Linked DNA regions of Homo sapiens: regions 1, 2 and 3 are each linked to region 4. Evidence: promoter capture Hi-C in 16 types of primary human blood cells and fetal thymus (Javierre and others, 2016). All regions are on one chromosome and are shown on one strand. The core of a region is centred on a gene start or on the middle of the fragment in contact, and the rest is flanking DNA. Distances in the headings are between cores, read along the strand shown. Region 1 overlaps FAM227A (family with sequence similarity 227 member A). Region 2 overlaps FAM227A (family with sequence similarity 227 member A). Region 3 overlaps JOSD1 (Josephin domain containing 1). Region 4 holds the start of PICK1 (protein interacting with PRKCA 1).

Region 1 (4,572 bases), core at 743-3,242, 590 kb after region 4:
ACATGCCTGTAATCCCAGCTACCTGGGAGGCTGAGGCAGGAGAACTGCTTGAACCCGGGAGGTGGAGGTTGCAGTGAGCCGAGATCATGCCACTGCACTCCAGCCCGGGCGACAGAGTGAGACTCTGTCTCAGAAACAAACAAACAAAATATTTAAAGAACTCTTAAAAACTCGACAGTAAGAAAATACACAACCTGATTTAAAAATGGGCTAAAGGTTGGGTGCGGTGGCTCACGCCTGTAATCCCAGCACTTTGGGAGGCTGAGGTGGGTGGACCACCTGAGGTCAGGAGGTCGAGACCAGCCTGACAAACATGGTGAAACCCCGTCTCTACTAAAAATACAAAAATTAGCCAGACGTGGTGGTGGGTGCCTGTAATCTCGGCTACTTGGGGGCTGAGGCAGAAGAATCCCTTGAACCTGGGAGGCAGAGGTTGCAGTGAGCCGAGTCTATGCCACTGCACTCCAGCCTGAGCAACAGAGTGAGACTCTGTCTCAAAAAAAAAAAAAAGAAAAAGCTGGGTTTCATGCTCATCTGTCTGAGGGTGGAGGGTTGCACCACAATTTCTTAGTTGCTATCAATAACATCTATAATTCTTTGGGAGATAGAAGGGAAAGATGGCAACCACTTTTTAAAATTAGCTTTTAAAATATTCTTCCCCATTCTTTCCACAAATACTTCCAGAGCTTCTTCCTTTGGGGCTCTTTCTGATTATGTTAGTAAAAAATACTGGAGTCAAACAGTCCTTCACAGTCTCAAATTCTTTTAGAGGATGGGTAGAGTTTAAGTAATTGAAAAAATGTATCTGGCCAGATGCGGTGGCTCATGCCTGTAATCCCAGCACTTTGGGAGGTCAAGGCGGGCAGATCACCTGAGGTCAGGAGTTCAAGACCAGCCTGGCCAACATGGTGAAACCCCATCTCTACTAAAAATACAAAAAATTAGCTGGACATGGTGACAGGCGCCTGTAATCCCAGCTACTCGGGAGGCTGAGGCAGGAGAATCACTTGAACTTGGGAAGTGGAGGTTGCAGTGAACTGAGACTGCACCACCGCACTCCAGCCTGGGCAACAGAGTGAGACTCTGTCTCAAAAAAAAAAAAGGAATATGGCTGGGCGAGGTGGCTCATGACTGTAATCCCAGCACTTAGGGAGGCCGAGGCAGGTGGATCACTTGAGGTCCGGGGTTCAAGACCAGCCTGGCCAACATGGTGAAACCCCATCTCTACTAAAAATATAAAATATTAGCCAGGTGTGGTGGCAGGCACCTGTAATTTCAGCTACTCAGGAGGCTGAGGCAGGAGAACTGCTCGAACCTGGGAGGTAGAGGTTGCAGTGAGCTGGGACTGTGCCACTGCACTCCAGCCTGGGTAACAGTGTGAAACTCCATCTCAAAAAAAAAAAAGAAAGAAAAGAAAAGAAAAAATGAATGTATAAGGGACAAGCTAATAAGTAATGTGCATTATAGACCTGAGCACTGATTAGATCTCTGTGGCATGACTCAAGTTAGGTGTATTTGGTCTGATTGTAGGTGACATCACCAGAAGGATACAGGGTGGATTGTTCTCTAACTCCTTCCTCACAGTCTTCACCATTGTATTCCGTGCGACAAGCGAGACAGCCAGGTGCTCATCCACTGGTATCATAGGTAGGGTGGTGAGGTTGATGACCTCCATCTTCCTGAAGTGATTCATTGTCCAATTTCTTGTAAATGGACAAACAAAAAGCTTCCACTTTTAAGAGCCTCTCATTTCCCACTCCAATCTTGTCGTTTGTTTAATCAGCCTCCTGGAAATCATAAACAGCATAGAGCCAGCTCAGAAAACACAAGAAGAAAAGCCCAACCATGTTCCCCAGCTACACAGGGTTGATGGCAAAGCACATGTCCCATGCCTGCATGGGGAATGAAAGGGTTCCGTCTGAGAAGCCTATTCTTAAATGAGGATTTCAAGGTATATGGACTTGTTCTTCCAATGTCTGATGCCTGACTCTCCCTCTGCCCCTCCCCCATGATGAAAATTGTTCTAGTTTTAAAAATAAGGAAACTAGAATGCGGAAAAGGCCAGGGCTCCAGACTACTCCAGACCACTCAGCAAGTCAGTTCCCAAACGAGAAATGAAATCAGATCTCTTTGCTTCTCTGAGTCCCAACTCTAAAAGAGATTTGGATTAGGTGACCCTAAGGCTCTCTCCAGCTTTCCGATGCTGTGATTCTAGAATAAGGGGTCCATCTCCTCAGCGCGAGGCTCCTGATCAACCTGAAGCTTTCTGCTCCCTCTCAGAAAACTGGCCCCAACCCTACTCTTCCTCCTTGGCTCTGCAACACTCTGGTCTAACAGCTCTCCTGGGTCCTTGCTTGTTGGCCAGGAACCCATTACTTCCATCTGTGGGCCCTCTATGTCCAGAGTCTAGTGTGATAGGCCTCGTTATAATACAGCAAAAGACTTAGATCCTGCCCTCTAGAAGCTCATACATAACGGAAGGACAGAGAAAACGTTGAGTTTGGTGGGAACATGAACTCAAATGCCCTTTCACCATACTCTCCTTCCCTCTCCTCCGGTTCAGGCCTTTGCTCCATCTTCTCCACAGACATGCATCTTACATGCCAGACCCGCAGAACTTCTTCCTGCTCCCTGACCACACAATGCTCTTCCTACCTCTATGCCTTTCCAGATGTGGTTCCCTCTGTTGGACTACGCCCAGGTGACATATCTGTGGAAACCTTCTCAAATAATTCCAAGCCATTAGCACCATGCCTCCTCTGCAAAGCCCAAGGTTCTGCATTCATCTATCACAGGACTCACAATAGTGAACTGGAATGATTTGCTTCTACTGCTTTCTCCACTAGGCAAATTATGGATTAACTGTGATTCCTTTTAGACTTACCATGGTTTTTTGTTTGTTTGTTTGTTTGTTTTGAGACAGCGTCTTGCTCTGTCGTCCAGACTGGAGTGCAGTGGCGCGATCTTGGCTCACTCACTGCAGCCTTGACATCCTGGATTCAAGCCTCCCGTGTAGCTGCGACTACAGGTACCTGCCACCCACAACTGCCTAATTTTTGTATTTTTAGTAGAGATGGGGTTTCACCATTTTGGCCAGGCTGGTCTCGAACTCCTGACCTCAGGTGATCCACCCACCTTGGCCTCTCAAAGTGCTGGGATTACAGGCGTGAACCACCACTCCCAGCCCCTTCTGAATATTTCATACCATTTTAGGTATTCTCTGAAACATGGTAAGTTTTTACTGCCATTACTTGGGGAGGATAAAAGGAGAGGGAAGAAAACTAGCTTCCTTAAATATCTACCCTGTGGCAAGCAATATGATGTGCTGGGGGCAGGGCAGAAGAGTGGAAGAGTAAGAAACCTTCTGCCCTCATGGAGCACACATTCTGGCAGTCAAGATTCAAATGCCCTGTTTAAAGTTAACATATTTGGGCTGGGCGTGGTGGGTCACGCCTGTAATCCCAGCACTTTGGGAGGCCGAGGCAGGCGAATCATGAGGTCAAGAGTTCGAGACCAGCCTGGCCAACGTGGTGAAACGCCATCTCTACTAAAATACAAAAATTAGCTGGGCATGGTGGCAGGCCCCTGTAATCCCAGCTACTAGGGAGGCTGAGGCAGGAGAATCGCTTGAACCTGGGAGGTGGAGGTTGCAGTGAGCTGAGATCATGCCACTGCATTCCAGCCTGAAAGACAGAGTAAGACCCTGTCTCAAAATAAATAAATAAAGTTAACATATTTGATGCTTCTCAGAAGAGGCGATATGAAAAAAAGAAAAATTAAAATAACAAAAAAGTTAATATATTTGAGCATATAAAAACAACGCTGACTTTAGGCCAGGCGCAGTGGCTCACACCTGTAATCCCAGCACTTTGGGAGGCCGAGGCAGGCAGATCATGAGGTCAGGAGATCGAGACCATCTGGCTAACATGGTGAAACCCCGTTTCTACTAAAAAATACAAAAAATTAGCCGGGCATGGTGGCGGGCACCTACAGTCCCAGCTACTTGGGAGACAGAGGCAGGAGAATGGCGTGAACCCAGGAGGCGGAGCTTGCAGTGAGCCGAGATCACGCCACTGCACTCCAGCCTGGGCGACAGAGCGAGACTCCATCTCAAGAAAAAAAAAAAAAAGGTCGGGCGTGGTGGCTTACGCCTATAATCCCAGCACTTTGGGAAGCCGAGGCAGGTGGATCACGAGGTCAGGAGATCGAGACCATTCTGGCTAACATGGTGAAACTCCGTCTCTACTAAAAATTAGCCTGGCGTGGTGGCGGGCTCCTGTAGTCCCAGCTACCAGGGAGGCTGAGGCAGGAGAATGGCGTGAACCTGGGAGGCGGGGCTTGCAGTGAGCCGAGATCACACCACTTCACTCCAGCCTGGGTGACAGAGCAAGACTCCATCTCAAAAAAAAAAAAAAAAAAAAATGCTGACTTTAGCATCTGACAGACTTTTTAGTATAACCCTCAGTCATACAATCAGGGGTCCCCAACCCCAGGGCCATGGATGGGTGTAGGTCTGTGGCCTGTTAGGAACCAGGCCACACAGCAGGAAGTGAGTGGCAGGTGAGTGAGAGA
Region 2 (5,092 bases), core at 1,631-4,130, 560 kb after region 4:
TACAGGAGCGAAACTCCATCTCAAAAAAAAAAAAAAATAATAAGTTCTGGAGTGAAAGGGAGCAAAAGATGGGGATGTGGAGTCAAGATAAGAGATGATGAAAGCACGGCTGTTCAGTGATGGGAATGACCCCACAGAATGGGAGGAAATGAAGATGCAGGAAAGAGGGGCGCTAAGGGCATCTCTACTTGGGAAGCTGAGGGCCAAGGTTCAGAACACAGGCTGGGGACTGACCTGGGAGGGGAGCAGGACCTCTCCATAGGCACAGAGATGGCAGATGGCGAGGGTGCAGAGGGGGGCAGGCTGTCTTGGTGGTGGGAAGGCACGGGCCTTCCTGCTGACTGCTTGTGATTTCTCAGTGAAGACCTTCCCTGGGTGGTGCTGGGGAGGAGGGCAGGTGGGGAAGGACACGCTGCAGGGGAAGTGTTTCGAAGGTGGGAGAATCTGGGCATGCTAGGGCAGTACAGTGGTGCGGCCAGGCAGCACTGAGTGCCCTTCTGAGCTGTGGGGCCGCACAGTCTTCAGAATGTCTGCAAGAAGGCACCATGGTTGTTGTATCTATTTTATACCCATAGAAACAAAGTCTTAGGGAAGTCAAATAACTTGCCTAAGGCCACACAGATGGAATCTGAACCTGTGAGAACAGACTTTTTTTTTTTTTTTTTTTTTGAGACAGAGTCTTGCTCCGTCACCAAGGCTGGAGTGCAGCGGCACGATCTCAGCTCACAGCAACCTCCGCCTCCCGGGTTAAAGCAAATCTCTTGCCTCAGTCTCCCGAGTAGCTGGGACTACAGGTGTGTGCCACCACACCCAGCTAATTTTTTGTATTTTTAGTAGAGATGGGGTTTCACCGTGTTAGCTAAGATGGTCTCGATCTCCTGACCTTGTAATCCGCCTGCCTTGGACTCCCAAAGTGCTGGGATTACAGGCGTGAGCCTCCACACCCGGCCGGAGGAGGCTGTCTTAATGAATTAAGCCTCCAATGCCATTTGTTAAGGAAGCATGTCATTAGAAATGGGGCATTCAGGTACTAGAAGTGGGAATGTTGTCCTAGGGTTTAAAGATTAGCGGGGAGGCTGGGCCTGGTGGCTCACCTATAATTGAAGCACTTCAGGAGGCTAAAGTAGGAGGATTGCTTGAGCTAGGAGTTCAAGACCAGCCTGGGCAACATAGCAAGACTTCTCTATTAAAAATTCATGGTGACATGTTCCAGCTACTCAGGAGGTTGAGGCAGTAGGATTACTTGAATCCAGGAGGACGCCACAGCACTCTGGCCTGGGCAACAGAGTGAGACCCTGTCTCTAAAAGAATAAACCAATTAAAAAAAAGATTAGCAGGGGAAACAGCCATGATCAGAGTAATAACCAAATAATTACATGAGTGCTCTGAAGGAAAGGGACATTGGCCTGTATAATAAGGAACATCATCCAGCCCAGAGGGGCAGAAAGCTGACCCTGAGGATGAGAGTGAAGGGGGTTAGAATCTGCCATCCCAAAATAGGCCACTTTGCATAGGAATTATTTTGAGCTGAAGGCAATTGAAAAACAGCAGATGCAGGAAATCTCTTTACAATTCCAGTTTCCATCTAAAAGCAGAGCATAAATTTTCCTTTGTGAAGGTGTCCCCACTTCCCATCTCCAGTACCAGGAAGAAGAGACAACTCATCACTGGAGATGGCACCCCTTGAATCTGCATATAGAAATCTTATTGAAAGAATCCTTATCTTCCATTAGTTTCTCCCATATATTTACCTTCCCACAATTTACCATCCCCAGAAGCCTAAACCTCTTTTCCTTTGTCTTGTCACATCTCCACAATTAATTGCTCTTTGTTAGGGTGGTATGTGAACTATCAGACCTAGCCACTTCCTTGAGGTTTTCGCTTTCTTCCAATGAAGTCCTGTGTCATGTAAAAATACTAACATCAAATAAAATTTGAATGCCTTTCTCCTGTTAAACTGTCTATCTTTTGTCAGTTTAACTTGTAGGGCTCCATACACTTTGCCTCAGAGGGTAGATAAAAGGTTTTTTTCCCTCCCTACAAGAATCTGAACTGAGATGGAAGGATGACTATATATCTCCTAGACCAGGGGTTAGCAAACTTTTTCTGCAAAAAGCCAGATGATAAATATTCGGCTTTGCAGGTCCTAAAGTCTCTATCGCAAGTACTCAACTCTGCTGTTTCAGTGTGAAGGTAGTTGTAGACAATAGTAAATGAATGGCCATGGCTGTGTGCCAATAAAGCTTTATTTTCAAAAACAGGCAGTGAAAGGTCTGATTCATAGTTTGCTAAACCCTGCCCTGGGATTTTTTTTTCCAGCTCTTCAGAAAAAAAAAAAAAAAAGCCTTTATTTGTGGCATTTGGTTAACTGCATGCTATCAATGTCTCTGGACTTGGGGGTTGGGAGGAAATGCTGACAGTGACAATGGCAATGGTGATAGGAGCTTACCTGGGACAAGAAGAACAGGAGGTACAGAGGCCACATACAGAAAGGGAGTGTGGTATACAAGGAAATAAAAGAAGTCCCCTGAGGCAGGACCCCTGAGAGCCCAGGAGGTTGGAGAAGGGGTTGAGCCAGATGAGCAAGGCTGTGCAAGTCAGTCTACTAAAGGCCAGAGGAAGCATTCTGGGGTGTGGAGGGTGTCATTTTATTGGCTAGAAGTAGGATCTTATTTATTTATTTATTTATTTATTTTTGAGACAGAGTCTTGCCCTGTTACCCAGGCTGCAGTGCAGTGGTGTGATCTCAGCTCTCTGCAACCTCTGCCTCCCGGGTTCAAGCAATTCTTGTGCCTCAGCCTCCTGAGTAGCTGGGACTACAGGTGCATGGCACCAAGCCTGGCTAATTTTTGTATTTTTAGTAGAGACGAGGTTTCACCATGTGGACCAGACTGGTCTTGGACTCCTGGTCTCAAGTGATCTGCCTGCCTTGGGCTCCCAAAGTATTGGGATTATAGGCGTGAGTCACTGTGCCTGGCCTGGAAGTAGGGTTTTTAGGGTCGGGGGATAGGATAGGGTCAGGTGGTGATGGGATGATGTACTTAGCTTTGCACTTTGAAAAGATGGCCCTAGAAGTATCTGAGAACCTGAGGGAGACCAGTTAGGTGCCTACTGCAGTAGTGATGGGAGCTCAAACTAGGGTGGTGGGAGTGGAAAAGTGAGAAACAGGTGGTTCTGGGAGGTACATCAGAAGGAACATCAATAGGGCAGAGGAGAAAGTACGTATCAGGGATGACTGCTAGGTTTCAGGTTTGCCATGAGGATTAGTGGAGAAAAAAAAATAAGTAAAAGCATCTTGCACTGCAGCCTACACTGAAAACCTGGTTCCTTCCCTCTCTCTTCTCAATCGCTGCATTTCTGTGAATGCCCCTTAGTATGCCACTTAGCCACTTACCCATGGGAGACCTGGAGGCCTCCCAGGGCTCCTCACTTAGAAGATGGAGTGGACCTGGGCAAGGGGTACAGAGATGTGCAACTAACCGGAGGCCACTGATGCTCCAGAAGAACCGAGGGTTCCTGAAGCTTATGGGACTCCAAAGGGGTCCTGGTCCGTGCCTCCCCACTTACCTGAGGGTGGTAGAATTTCCTGCTCTGGGCTGGCTTCTGGGAGAAGGCTCTCTTACCAGCAAACAAAGAAAACTCTCTCCCTATAGAAGGGGAAAAGCTGTTATTAATTCCTCTTGTCATGGGACAATGAAGATTGTAGCCCAGGAGCTTGAGACAGCCTCCTTTCTGGAGACAGTGACACCCACCAGATCTAGGGTCTCTCTGTTGACTCCACCTGCTGGGCAAGTTACCTAACCCTGGTCCTGTTAGACTGTGAACACTATCTCCCTCTAGGGTGAATGCACCAATTAAAGGAAATAATGTATGCACAGGGCCGGCGCGGTGGCTCACGCCTGTAATCCCAGCACTTTGGGAGGCCGAGGCGGGCGGATCACGAGGTCAGGAGATCGAGACCATCCTGGCTAACACGGTGAAACCCTGTCTCTACTAAAAAAAAAAATACAAAAAATCAGCCGGGCATGGTGGCGCGCGCCTGTAGTCCCAGCTACTCGGGAGGCTGAGGCAGGAGAATAGTGTGATCCTGGGAGGTGGAGCTTGCAGTGAGCCGAGATTGCGTCACTGCACTCCAGCCTGGGTGACATAATGAGACTCCGTCTCAAGAAAAAAAAGAAAAAAAAAGTATGCACAGCTCTGTGCATAGGGCAGACACTCAACCCACAGGAAAAAAAGGACTGGTTTCAGAAGAAAAACCAATTCAGAGCTCTGCAAAATTAAAATGCTTAAATGCTTAAGAAACAATCTATCAAACTCATAGCTGTTAAATTTAATATTCATTAAAATGTCATTAAACTCAAGCAATTTATGGGTTAGGTTTTTCTTCACTTTGAAAAAACTCCCTGAGTCGGCCGGGCATGGTGGCTCACGCCTATAATCCCAGCACTTTGGGAGGCCAAGGTGGGTGGATTGCTTGAGCTCAGGAGTTTGAGACCAGCCTGGGCAACATGGTGAAACCCTGTCTCACCCTGTATTTTTGTACTAAAAATACAAAAATTAGCTGGTGTGGTGGAGCATGCCTGTAATCCCAGCTACTTGGGAGGCTGAGGCTCAAGAATCGCTTGAACCTGGAAGGCAGAGGTTGCTGTGAGCCGAGATCACGCCACTGCACTCCAGCCTGGGTGACACAGAAAGACTCTGTCTCAAAAAAAAAAAAAAGAAAGAAAAGAAAAGAAAACAAGAAAAAAAAAAAAACTCCCTGAGTGTGCATGATGACTACAGGGAAATCGTATCTATGAAGGGATCAGGAAATGGAAATGCTTAGAGAGCTAACAGGTAAAAGTGTCTATGTCGGGAGGCTGAGGCAGGAGAATCGCTTGAACCTGGGAGGTGGAGGTTGCAGTGAGCTGAGATTGCGCCATTGCACTCCAGCCTGGGCGACAGAGCAAGACTCCAAAAAACCAAAAAGTGTCTGGCCCTGAATAAGTGCCAGCTTATAATTTCCAGCTAATAACCACCACCGTGCTCTGCTCTAAGGGTTTCAGGTATTCTATTACTTAGTGCCCTAAACCAGGGCTTCTCAAACTGGAAC
Region 3 (4,936 bases), core at 2,161-4,660, 640 kb after region 4:
AATAGTCATCCTCTGTGGTAGAGAATGCTAATTGTTCACCAATATCCCCAATCTCTTTGCTCCTTCCAACTTTCATTAGATTTTTTTCCCTTGATACCAAGCTACTTTTTGCCTAGTTTTTTTTTTTTTTTTTTTTTGAGATAAGGTCTCACTCTTTTGCCCAGGCTGGAATGCAGTGGCACGAACATGGCTCACTGCAGCCTCGACCTCCTGGACTCAAGCCATCCTCCTATCTCAGCCTCCCAAGTAGCTGGACTACAGGCGCGAGCCCCCATGCCTAGCTAATTTTTAAATTTTTTGTAGAGATAGGGTCTCACTATGTTGCACGGGCTGGTCTCAAACTGCTGGACTGAAGCCATCCACCCAACTCGGCCTCCCAAAGTGCTGGGATTACAGGCATAAGCCACCAAGCCCAGCCGTGGTTAAATTTTAATATTAAATATCCAAGGCCGGGCACGGTGGCTCACGCCTGTAATCCCAGCACTTTGGGAGGCCAAGGTGGGTGGATCACGAGGTCAGGAGTTTCAGACCAGCCTGGCCAACATGGTGAAACCCCGTCTCTACCAAAAATACTAAAATTAGCCGGATGTGGTGGCGGGCGTCTATACTCTCAGCTACTCAGGAGGCTGAGGCAGGAGGATTCCTTGAACCCAGAAGGCGGAGGCTGCAGTGAGCCCAGATCACGCCACTGCAATCCAGCCTAGGCAGACAGAGCAAGACTCCGTCTCGGGTGGGGGGAAAAATCCTATTTGGGAGAGGAATGCAGAACTAGATGTAAGAATCTGATCACTAAAAAACTGGGATGAGTCTAGTGAAAATGTTTCAGGCCTGAGCATTTTCAAAACCACCTAGCAAAGCTGCCATCATGTAATTTGATTTCTATGACCCTTTTTTTCAAACCTTATACCCCCCCTTTTTTTTTTTGAGAGATGGGAGTCTCACTCTGTTGCCCACACTACAGTACAGTGGTGCGATCTTGGCTCACTGCAACCTCTACCTCCTGGGTTCAAGTGATTCTCCTGCCTCAGTTTCCCGAGTAGCTGGGACTACAGGCGTGTGCCATCACCCCAGCTAATTTTTGTTTTTTTTAATAGAGACATGGTTTTGCTATATGTTGGCCAGGCTGGTCTCAAACTCCTAACCTCAGGTGATGTGCCCACCTCTGCCTCCCAGAGTGCTGGGATTACATGCGTGAGCCACCGTGCCTGGCCCACATTCTTTATATAAAATGATGAGATCTAATATCTACATCTGTATACATATACACTGATGACACTTGCCCAGTTTATCTTTTCTCCAATTTCACAGGTTGAAAACAGATGCTTTTTAAACAAATGACCTCTTTTTGCAGATGTTACCACTATGTTCAAATCCTGGACCAAGCCTCTGACACACCTGACTCCTCTCTTCCTGTCCTTGTTGCCGCCATGTTGAGTCATTAGCTCAGCTCTGAGTTCCTATTCACTTGTAAGCATGAATCATCTCACATCCACAACTCTATTGAAACTCCACCCTGCTTTTGTATTTTGCTTCTTTTTTCTGGCTAAAATTCAACTGCTAGGATGAACTTCCTCTCAACAAATAGTGCTTATCAACATTTCCCTCCCATTTCTACCATTCACTAGCCACACTTTTAAACAGCATAGAATTATATCTGCTAAGGTCCAAATTGATCACTTTTCACTTTTTAATTGCTCTGAATGCCAGGGTTCTAACTTCACTTAAATCTAGTCTCAAGGCCTGGTTAAAGCATAGCTGAGATGTGCTTCTCAGGGGCTGAGGCCTGTTCGACTCGTTTTCTCTATGGTGCCTCATAGTGCCTGGCACTCTGCAGGCAGCTAGTCAATGTTTGTTTAAAAAATTCCATCTTCTCTCCCTCACCTCTTCTCCCTTTGCTTTTTCCTCTAGATTCCTTTCACACTTCTGTATTTTTTGTTCCTACCTACTCATACATTCTTTCAATATAAAATACTCTACACAGAATTCCACTTCTGGAGTTGGGACAGAATACATGCCCTTATGTGCTGGCTTGCCAGCACTTTTTGGATCTTTATATTATGCTGCTAGAATTGGGGAATGCAGTACAATTTGCTAAAGCTTCAAAAGGAATAGGATCTTAGTTCCATGTGGGCATTTAGCAAATATTTAGCATTCTTGTATTCAGGAGAACAAAGCTGAGAAACTCTTGTTATCATCCACACACACTTGATGAGCACAGTCCAGAACGTCAGTGCTGGCCCAGCTCAGCAGCTGGAGGAACAGCTACTGATAGCACTCTACAGGCGCTTCCAGTACTCGAGAAACAGGAGAGCGGTTAGCGGGGCAGGTTCTAGAGTCAAAAGGCGTGGGGCCAAATTCTGCCATCAATAGCTGTGAACTCTGTGCCATGATTTCCTCAACTGGAAAAATGGGCAGCAACAGAATCCATCTTGGAAGATCAGTGTGAGGACTGAGTGGACACAAGGAAAGCACTCAGAACGGTGCTTTGCACCAAGTGTTCATGTGTGTTAGTGATCCTATCATTATTCCCATAGTCAGATCAGGGGCCAAATGTACAGAAGTGAAAACTTTTCTACCAGAGTGTGACTGGATACACAGAATCTTGTTTCTGGAATTTATTTACTAGTAGGTGAAACTGGGCAAATCGCCTAAAATGAATCCTAGTTTCCTAAGTTCATCACTGATAAGGTTGTTGCAAGATTGTTCATACATATCACAAAGTACTAAGCCATTGAGGTACTCACCCTGAGTCCTTTCCTTCTCCCTAGTTTTAGCTCAGGAAATAATTTGCAAATATCTGATTAGGAGTAGGAGAAATACTAATGGCTGGCCAAAAGGAAGCATGTACTGGGTCCTCCTTTCAGTGACATGACCTGATGATCTGAGACGAATTATTTTATCTCCCAGTGCCCCAGGTCCTGAAGAGTCAATTCTACTTGCTGCCAGATAATGGCCATGATGCAAATGATATATTAGCTCTGGTAAGGCATTACTCTGGTTACTACTGGCATTGGAAAATAATTACTCTCATTATAGTTTTGTCTGCATCTGGGGATTAACATTCTCCTAAGAGTAGGCCTTTGGCTCTTTCAGGGCAAATGGTCCATACCTGTGTTTTACAAATCACCCCAAATAGGTTGCTTCCAGCTGTAATTCTGGTCCCTATGTGGCAACAATTTCACTTCCAAGCTAAGAGAGTAAGAAAAAGGTCTTCTGGAATTGCTAATATGCACTGCTTGAAGAATGCTTGAGCTTCTCTGCAGCGAGGACTGCGCGGGCCTAACTACTTCTAGTCGGGGTCATCAGGCAAGATCATCACCTGAGTTGCTATGGACTGCAGCCATGCTGTTGTGTCCATTAAGACACCACAGAACTGACTCTCAAAACCTTTAATAAAGTAATTCTAGAAAATCAAAGCAAAGAGAAAAAAGCTGAACTTCTTTTTTTGTTTTTCCGAGACCCGTCACCCAGGCTGGAGTGCAGAGTGGTGCAATCTTGGCTCACTGCAACCTCCACTTCCCAAGTTTATGCGATTCTCCTGCCTCAGCCTCCCGACTAGCTGGGACTACAGGCGTGCACCACCACACCGGGCTAATTTTTGTATTTTTAGTAGACACGGGGTTCCACCATGTTGGACAGGCTGGTCTCAAACTCCTGAACTCAGGTGATCTGCCCTCCTCGGCCTCCCAAAGTGCTGGGATTACACCGTACTTGGCCAAAACCTGAACCTCTATTAACCTGTGGGGTGGCATTTGTTCTAAGTGGGTAAGAAAGGCCATCTAGAATAAAGGAGAAAGAAGAGATCTGGAGTCAACTTCAAATTATAGCTTTGCTATTTAGAAGCTATTTGGACATATTACCTGACCTTTCTGCCTATCAGCATAATACAGGCAGTGAAATGACTGTTGGGAGAGCTTCACAAAGCAATGTACGAACAGCACTACTGCCAGCACATGGCCTCACAGAAAAGCTGAGCATTGTTTATACATCTTGCTTGTGGTACCCACCACATTCCACCTTTAAAGACAGGTGACTGAACGTGTACGTATCTAGTCCCACTTCTAGACTGTAAACTCCTCGGCAGCAGAGCTTTACAGGCATTATAGCATAGTGGTCAACAGCATAGATATAAGAATTCAACCCCAGCTCCAAGTCTTGTTATCTTGGGCGAGGTACTGAACTAAATGTGTCTTCATCAGTAAAATGGAAATAACATCACATATTAACACGTATTCCACGGGACTGTTGAAGATCACTCAAGAAAACACAGCTGAGGCTATGAGTACTTTCCTAGCCCACCGTAAGTGCCTGATAAATGGTAGTGATTATCTTTTCATGTCTTGTGTCCCTTATACCTGCTAACGCAATCTAGCTAATACCTACAGCTTTGAAGGTTTATGAAGCTGAGACACTGCCCCACCCACAGAAATCCAGAAATATCAGTATCAAGATGCCAAGGAGAAGGGTCCCCTACCTCTGGAAAATCTCTTGCAGCGTATCCCGGGTGAAGGCATTGCTGTCCTGGAAGACGTTATTGAGGGCGTGGAGGGCACAAAGCTCCCTGCGCTGTTTCTCATGGTAGATTTGTGGGGGTGCTGCCTGGGGCAGCTCCAATGATTCAGATTTGGCCTTGTCTCCTTTCCATGGCACACAACTCATGTTTTTTGTTTTAGGTTCCAGAGATGGCTATAAACACCCCACTCTTCCCTCTAGAGGAAGAATGTAAGCTTCTCAGTCTTTTCCGGATTCCTGAGGTCCACCTTATTCTCTGGTGTCCATGATTTATGCTTTGTCACTGGGAGAAAAGATTGGAATCAAAAGGAAAAAAATAAAACCCACCTCTTCTCTCTTCTCAATAGAAAAATAACTTTTGGATTACTTTTATTTTGCTACCACTGTCAAAGTGCAGAATTTAAAAAAACACATAAAATGTAAG
Region 4 (4,962 bases), core at 1,388-3,887:
GGGCGCCTGTAATCCCAGCTACTCAGGAGGCTGGGGCAGGAGAATCGCCTGAACCCGGGAGGCAGAAGTTGCAGTGAGCTGAGATCGCACCACTTAACTCCAGCCTGGGCGACAAGAGGGAGACTCCATCTCAAAGAAAAAAAAAAAGAAAGAAAGAAAAGAAAAGAAAAGAAAAAAATTGCAAAAATTAGCCAGGCGTAGCTATGAGCTGTAAGCCCCAAATTTAAAGGGGATAAAAACCTTGCCAGACAAAATACAAGCATGTAATAAATTAATCACTGCAGAATTGGCTCAGGAAAACCATGAAGAGATTTCACAAGGCAAATACACAGCAAATTGCTGAACAAATGATTCAAATAGCAACTGCTCAGGAGCTCAGCTCAGAAAAGGGAGCAAGATATATGAGCTGAGATTGTCTGCTAAGGCTGCCGGGAAGAGGTGAATTAGAGCGGAGCCTGCAGGCAAGGGATGAACAAGGCAGAAAACAGGGGCATCTTCCCCAACCTGAGAAGAAGGGCCAGAGTGGGTAGGGGGTTTTGAGGTCAGAGTGACAGCTGTGCCATGCAAATTGTTTACAAAGCACTCACACCTGTTTCTCCTTTTAATCTTTTGTTTCTGAGATGGAGTCTGGCTCTGTCACCCAGGCTGGCATGCAATGGCGCGATCTCGGTTCACTGCAATCTCCGCCACCCGGGTCCAAGCGATTCTCCTGCCTCAGTCTCCTGAGTAGCTGGGATTACAGGTGCATACCACCATGCCTGGCTAATTTTTGCATTTTTAGTAGAGACGGGGTTTCACCATGTTGGCCAGGCTGGTCCAGATATATGATCTAGATCTTATACCAACTCCTGATCTCATGATCCACACTCCTCAGCCTCCCAAAGTGCTGGGATTACAGGCGTGAGCCACCGCGCCCAGCCTCTCCTTTTAATCTTGACTTTCACAAATACCTGGTGGCAGGTGTCATTTCCCCATTCTACACGTACCTGAGGCTCAGAGTGAGACAGCGACTCACCCAAGATCTCCCAGCTACAAAATGGCAGAGCCTGGGCCTGAGCTAGCATGGTCATGGGCTGGAAGAGCCACAATCCATGTTAAGGCACCTGGGTTTGGAGACTGCTGCCTTTTTTTTTTTTGAAACGGAGTCTCTCTCTGTCGCCCAGGCTGGAGTGCAATGGCCTGATCTCGGCTCACTACAACCTCCCTCTCCTATTTTCAAGCGATTCTCCTGCCTCAGGCTCCCAAATAGCTGGAATTACAGGTGTGCGCCACCGCACCTGGCCTTAGACTGCTGCTTTTTGAAACCAAAATTCTGGCCTGGAAACAGAGCTTGGTTTTCCCAGCCCCAGCCCTGCCGCTATGATACCAGAGGAAGAGGCTTCCCAGGGCCTCCGTTTCCTTGCCTGCACAATGTGGCTGGCAAGATTTGGTCTTCTCTCACAGGGTGGTGGTGAGCTTTCAAATCCTGTGAAAGTGATCTCACAGGAGAGCAGTGGACACGTGGGAAGGCTGTTATTGTCACGGCATTCTGCACATCTGTCCGGACTCAATTAGCCACCTAAGGAGAGAGTAGGGCGGGGCTTCCACCGGCCGTGGGATATGTGGATAATCATCCTTCTGTATCTTTCTTCCATGGCTCCTGGGGCAGCTGGGGAAGCAAGCTGGATGGGCCTGGCCCCATGCTGCCGGATGAGGTGGATGCCTGGCTGTGGCTCTGGGAGAGCCAACCTCCCCCAGGGAACCCACTTTACACAATAGCAGTGGCAGCAGAGGCTGGCGAGGAGACAAGATTCGGACTCTGGGGAGCACTGATAGCATTTCCCGAGCCTCAGGTACATGCGGACCGTGACCCTCCCTGGGACCCCAGGGGGGCTGCTCCTCAGGACTAAGGAAGGAGGAGGGGGTGTGAGAAACCTTTCACCATATACCATAGAAAGCATTTACCTCAATGGCCTTGGTTTACATATGGGGAAACTGAGGCACATAAAGGGAAGGGAGCATGTCCAGTCTGTCCTTAATAGCAAGACCCACTGAATACACCTCTCCTGGCTCTCTGTTTAGTGTTTGGACGTTCAAAGATCCCTAGACTAGGCGGCGGGAGTTTCAGGGCCACGATCCAGATCTTACACCAACTGTGTGTGGCCCCGCACAAAATCACTCCCCGCTCTTTGGCACTTAAGTTGGCGAAACTGGGATGGGCTGGGACCTCAAAGGGCCATTCTAGTAGGGGAGTCACAGGCCCAGGTGGTGAAGGGGTGAAAGGGCATGATGTCTTGGGGTTTATAGTCCACTGAGCCTCGCCGGAGGTAACCCCGGCTCAGGGATGCTTTCGTTGCCATGGCAACCGCCGGGCCGGCGCGGGCCCCTGAGTGCAGCTGAGGAAGCTGGGACAAACCCTGCCCTTCCCAAGATGGCGGCGGCGGCAGGGCAAAGGGCGGGGTTAGACGCTGTCAGCCTGTCCAGACCGTTCCTCTGTTTTCGCTTGTTCCTACTAACAGCGAGCTTCCGCCAATACTTGTTCTCGTTCTTGGTTCCGAGCGTCCCGGGAGCCGGGAAGGGAAGGATTGTCTGCAGGGATTGGAGCAAATATCCAGTGGGGGGAAAGCCGGGACTTCCGCGTCTTGCCGGAAGTGACGTGACAATCGCGGCCACCGCCAGGTGGAACGGCAGGTGGGTTCAGGTACCAGCCTGGCCGGGACCCGGCTGTGGGACCAACGCTTCCGGTGAGCGACAGAGGCAGCTCCCCAGGGCCTGGAGACCCGTGGGGCGGACTCTGGGATCTGAGCCTATCGCCCTGGCCTGGAGCCCCCCTTTGTACCTAGTAAGAATCACCTACCCAGCCCCCCACCCGGAGACTGTCCCATCCCACTCCAGAGGGAAGAGGAGGGCACTGCTGTCCCGTATGAGGTGGTGGAGGGAGGGGTGGCGTTGGCATTTAGGCACTTGGGTTCCTTAAATCCTATGCTCCTTTCTCTCCCGGATCCAGTTCCCCATTCCCCTACCGAGCTGGGCAGTTAGCCAGCCCACTCCAACTCTCGGAACCATGTTTGCAGACTTGGATTATGACATCGAAGAGGATAAACTGTGAGTATTTTATTCCCCCAAGTTCCAGCAGTATAGGAGCCCCAAGTTCCTCATTTCCCTGGACTTCCCAGTCCCACAGACCCTTGCTTCTCAGCGGTGGATCAGTTGTTGTACTGAAGCAGCAATGGACCCTGCTCTCCCAGGAGCTCACTATTTGTAGGGGGCTGTGGACAGTTAAAGGGATAATCACAGCTCAGTGCCATAAGGGCACTATTAGCATGACTTGGTGACAAGAAGAGCAAAGCAGATGGAGCAGTGCTTCTGCTGGGATGGTCAAGGAAAGCTTCATGGAGGACGTAGCAATTGAACCAGGTTTTGAAGGTTGAATAGGAATATTGTAGACACCCTTCCTTCCCAACATAGGTTGTTAGTAGGACAGATTTTCCCATTAGAATATATCCTCTTTCAGATCAAGGAGTGGGTGCAATGCCTTTCTCTATGCTCAGCACTTAGTAAGGGACTTGACGTCAGTAGGTTGTTAGCGAATGTTTTTTGAATGAATAAGTGAATCAGCGTGAGTACTTATCATAAAACACCAGTCAATGCTAATTTATAGTGGAAACCGAGAGGTAATCGAGCAGTTGAGAGGTGGGAGGTGGACAGTTTAATAGAGGAAGACTCCCTGGAGTAGGTGGCCATCATACTACATAGATGCCTGATAAGGTGACAAGGACAGAACCTGGCTCAAATCTCAGAGATCGAATAAATGAAAGGGAAGGGGGACCTATTTTTATGGAGTGCCTGCTATGGACTGGGTTGCTGTTAGTGCCCTCCATGCATGGTTAGAAGAACTCTGATAAGGGTGCTCATCCACATTTTATGGATGAGGAAATTGAGATGCACAGAGGCTGACTTACCCAAGTCCCATAGCTGGCCAGGCACGGTGGCTCACGCCTGTAATCCCAGCACTTTGGGAGGCTGAGGCAGGCGGATCAACTGAGGTCAGGAGTTCAAGACCAGCCTGGCCAACATGGTGAAACCCCGTCTCTACTAAAAATACAAAAAAATCAGCCAGGCGTGGTGGCAGGCACCTGTAGTCCCAGCTACTTGGGCGACTGAGGCAGGAGAATCACTTGAACCCGGGAGGCGGAGGTTGCAGTGAGCCGAGATTGCGCCATTGCACTCTAGCCTGGGCAACAAGAGTAAGACTCCATCTCAAAAAAAAACCAAGTTCCACAGCTGATAAATGGCAGAGCTGGGGTTTGATCCCACATCTGCTTAACTCCAAGAGCTGTGCATGTTCCAGCACAAAATGTTGTTTTGTCCAAGGGAGGGAGAGAAAAAGCTGGGCAGCCAGTGGAGCCCCTCAGGAGTTTTAGAGGGCCCACCCGCTCCAGTCATCCTTCTGCCAGGAGAGTCAGCCTAGCTTGCTTTCCTTTCTAGCGGAATCCCGACTGTGCCTGGGAAGGTGACCCTGCAGAAGGATGCTCAGAACCTGATCGGGATCAGCATTGGAGGAGGGGCCCAGTACTGTCCCTGCCTCTATATCGTCCAGGTATTGGGCGCTTTGGAGGGGGGCACAAGGTACATCCCTACTTGGGCATGACAAAGGCAGGTTCATTTCTCCACACTGCATAGCTGACTCCTTCTCATTCTTGAGGTCTGACCCTCTCAGAGGGGCTTTCTGACCACCTGCGCTGCGTTGCTCTGCCCTGTCTTCTCCCCTGTGTCGCTCTGTTTTTTTCCTTCTCGGCACTTATTACTTGTTATTTGCCCTCTGTCTAGTAGAGTAGACTCTTTGCACTGAGGGCAGTGTCCTGGTTTGCTTTTTCACTGCAGTAAGCACCAGGTACAGTGCCTGGCACATAGTGGACATGCAATAGAAATTGACTATTGAATCAACAAAACCATCAGCCTTGCGTACTAGCCAAAATGAAG

Evidence for each region. Contacts are between HindIII fragments. The CHiCAGO score rates a contact against its expected background, and 5 or more counts as called.
Region 1: a fragment that was not itself captured here is called in contact with the fragment with the promoter of PICK1 in region 4 in 2 of 17 cell types (M1 macrophages and endothelial precursors); the score reaches 5.6 in M1 macrophages.
Region 2: a fragment that was not itself captured here is called in contact with the fragment with the promoter of PICK1 in region 4 in 3 of 17 cell types (M1 macrophages, M0 macrophages and endothelial precursors); the score reaches 6.6 in M1 macrophages.
Region 3: a contact is called between a fragment that was not itself captured here and the fragment with the promoter of PICK1 in region 4, in 7 of 17 cell types (fetal thymus, M2 macrophages, endothelial precursors and 4 more). The highest score is 8.4, in fetal thymus.

Annotation. Positions count from the first base shown.
Region 1 is chr22:38,648,476-38,653,047 of GRCh38, forward strand. FAM227A (family with sequence similarity 227 member A) reads right to left here. Exons shown (of 17, transcript NM_001013647.2): 2 at 1,552-1,787. The coding sequence starts at 1,693. Among named protein-coding and RNA genes, the nearest start is that of FAM227A, 5.6 kb to the right of the region's middle. The HindIII fragment of the contact is 536 bases long and covers 1,725-2,260 here.
Region 2 is chr22:38,616,645-38,621,736 of GRCh38, forward strand. FAM227A (family with sequence similarity 227 member A) reads right to left here. Exons shown (of 17, transcript NM_001013647.2): 11 at 3,568-3,647. Among named protein-coding and RNA genes, the nearest start is that of FAM227A, 37 kb to the right of the region's middle. The HindIII fragment of the contact is 1,279 bases long and covers 2,242-3,520 here.
Region 3 is chr22:38,695,329-38,700,264 of GRCh38, forward strand. It overlaps JOSD1 (Josephin domain containing 1), which reads right to left. Exons shown (of 5, transcript NM_001360236.2): 2 at 4,475-4,936. The coding sequence starts at 4,659. Among named protein-coding and RNA genes, the nearest start is that of JOSD1, 3.1 kb to the right of the region's middle. The HindIII fragment of the contact is 2,630 bases long and covers 2,096-4,725 here.
Region 4 is chr22:38,054,767-38,059,728 of GRCh38, forward strand. It overlaps PICK1 (protein interacting with PRKCA 1), which reads left to right and starts at 2,638. Exons shown (of 13, transcript NM_012407.4): 1 at 2,638-2,821; 2 at 2,987-3,084; 3 at 4,468-4,579. The coding sequence starts at 3,044. RefSeq lists enhancers at 2,090-2,715, 2,412-2,471, 2,716-3,339. The HindIII fragment of the contact is 5,557 bases long and covers 1-3,365 here.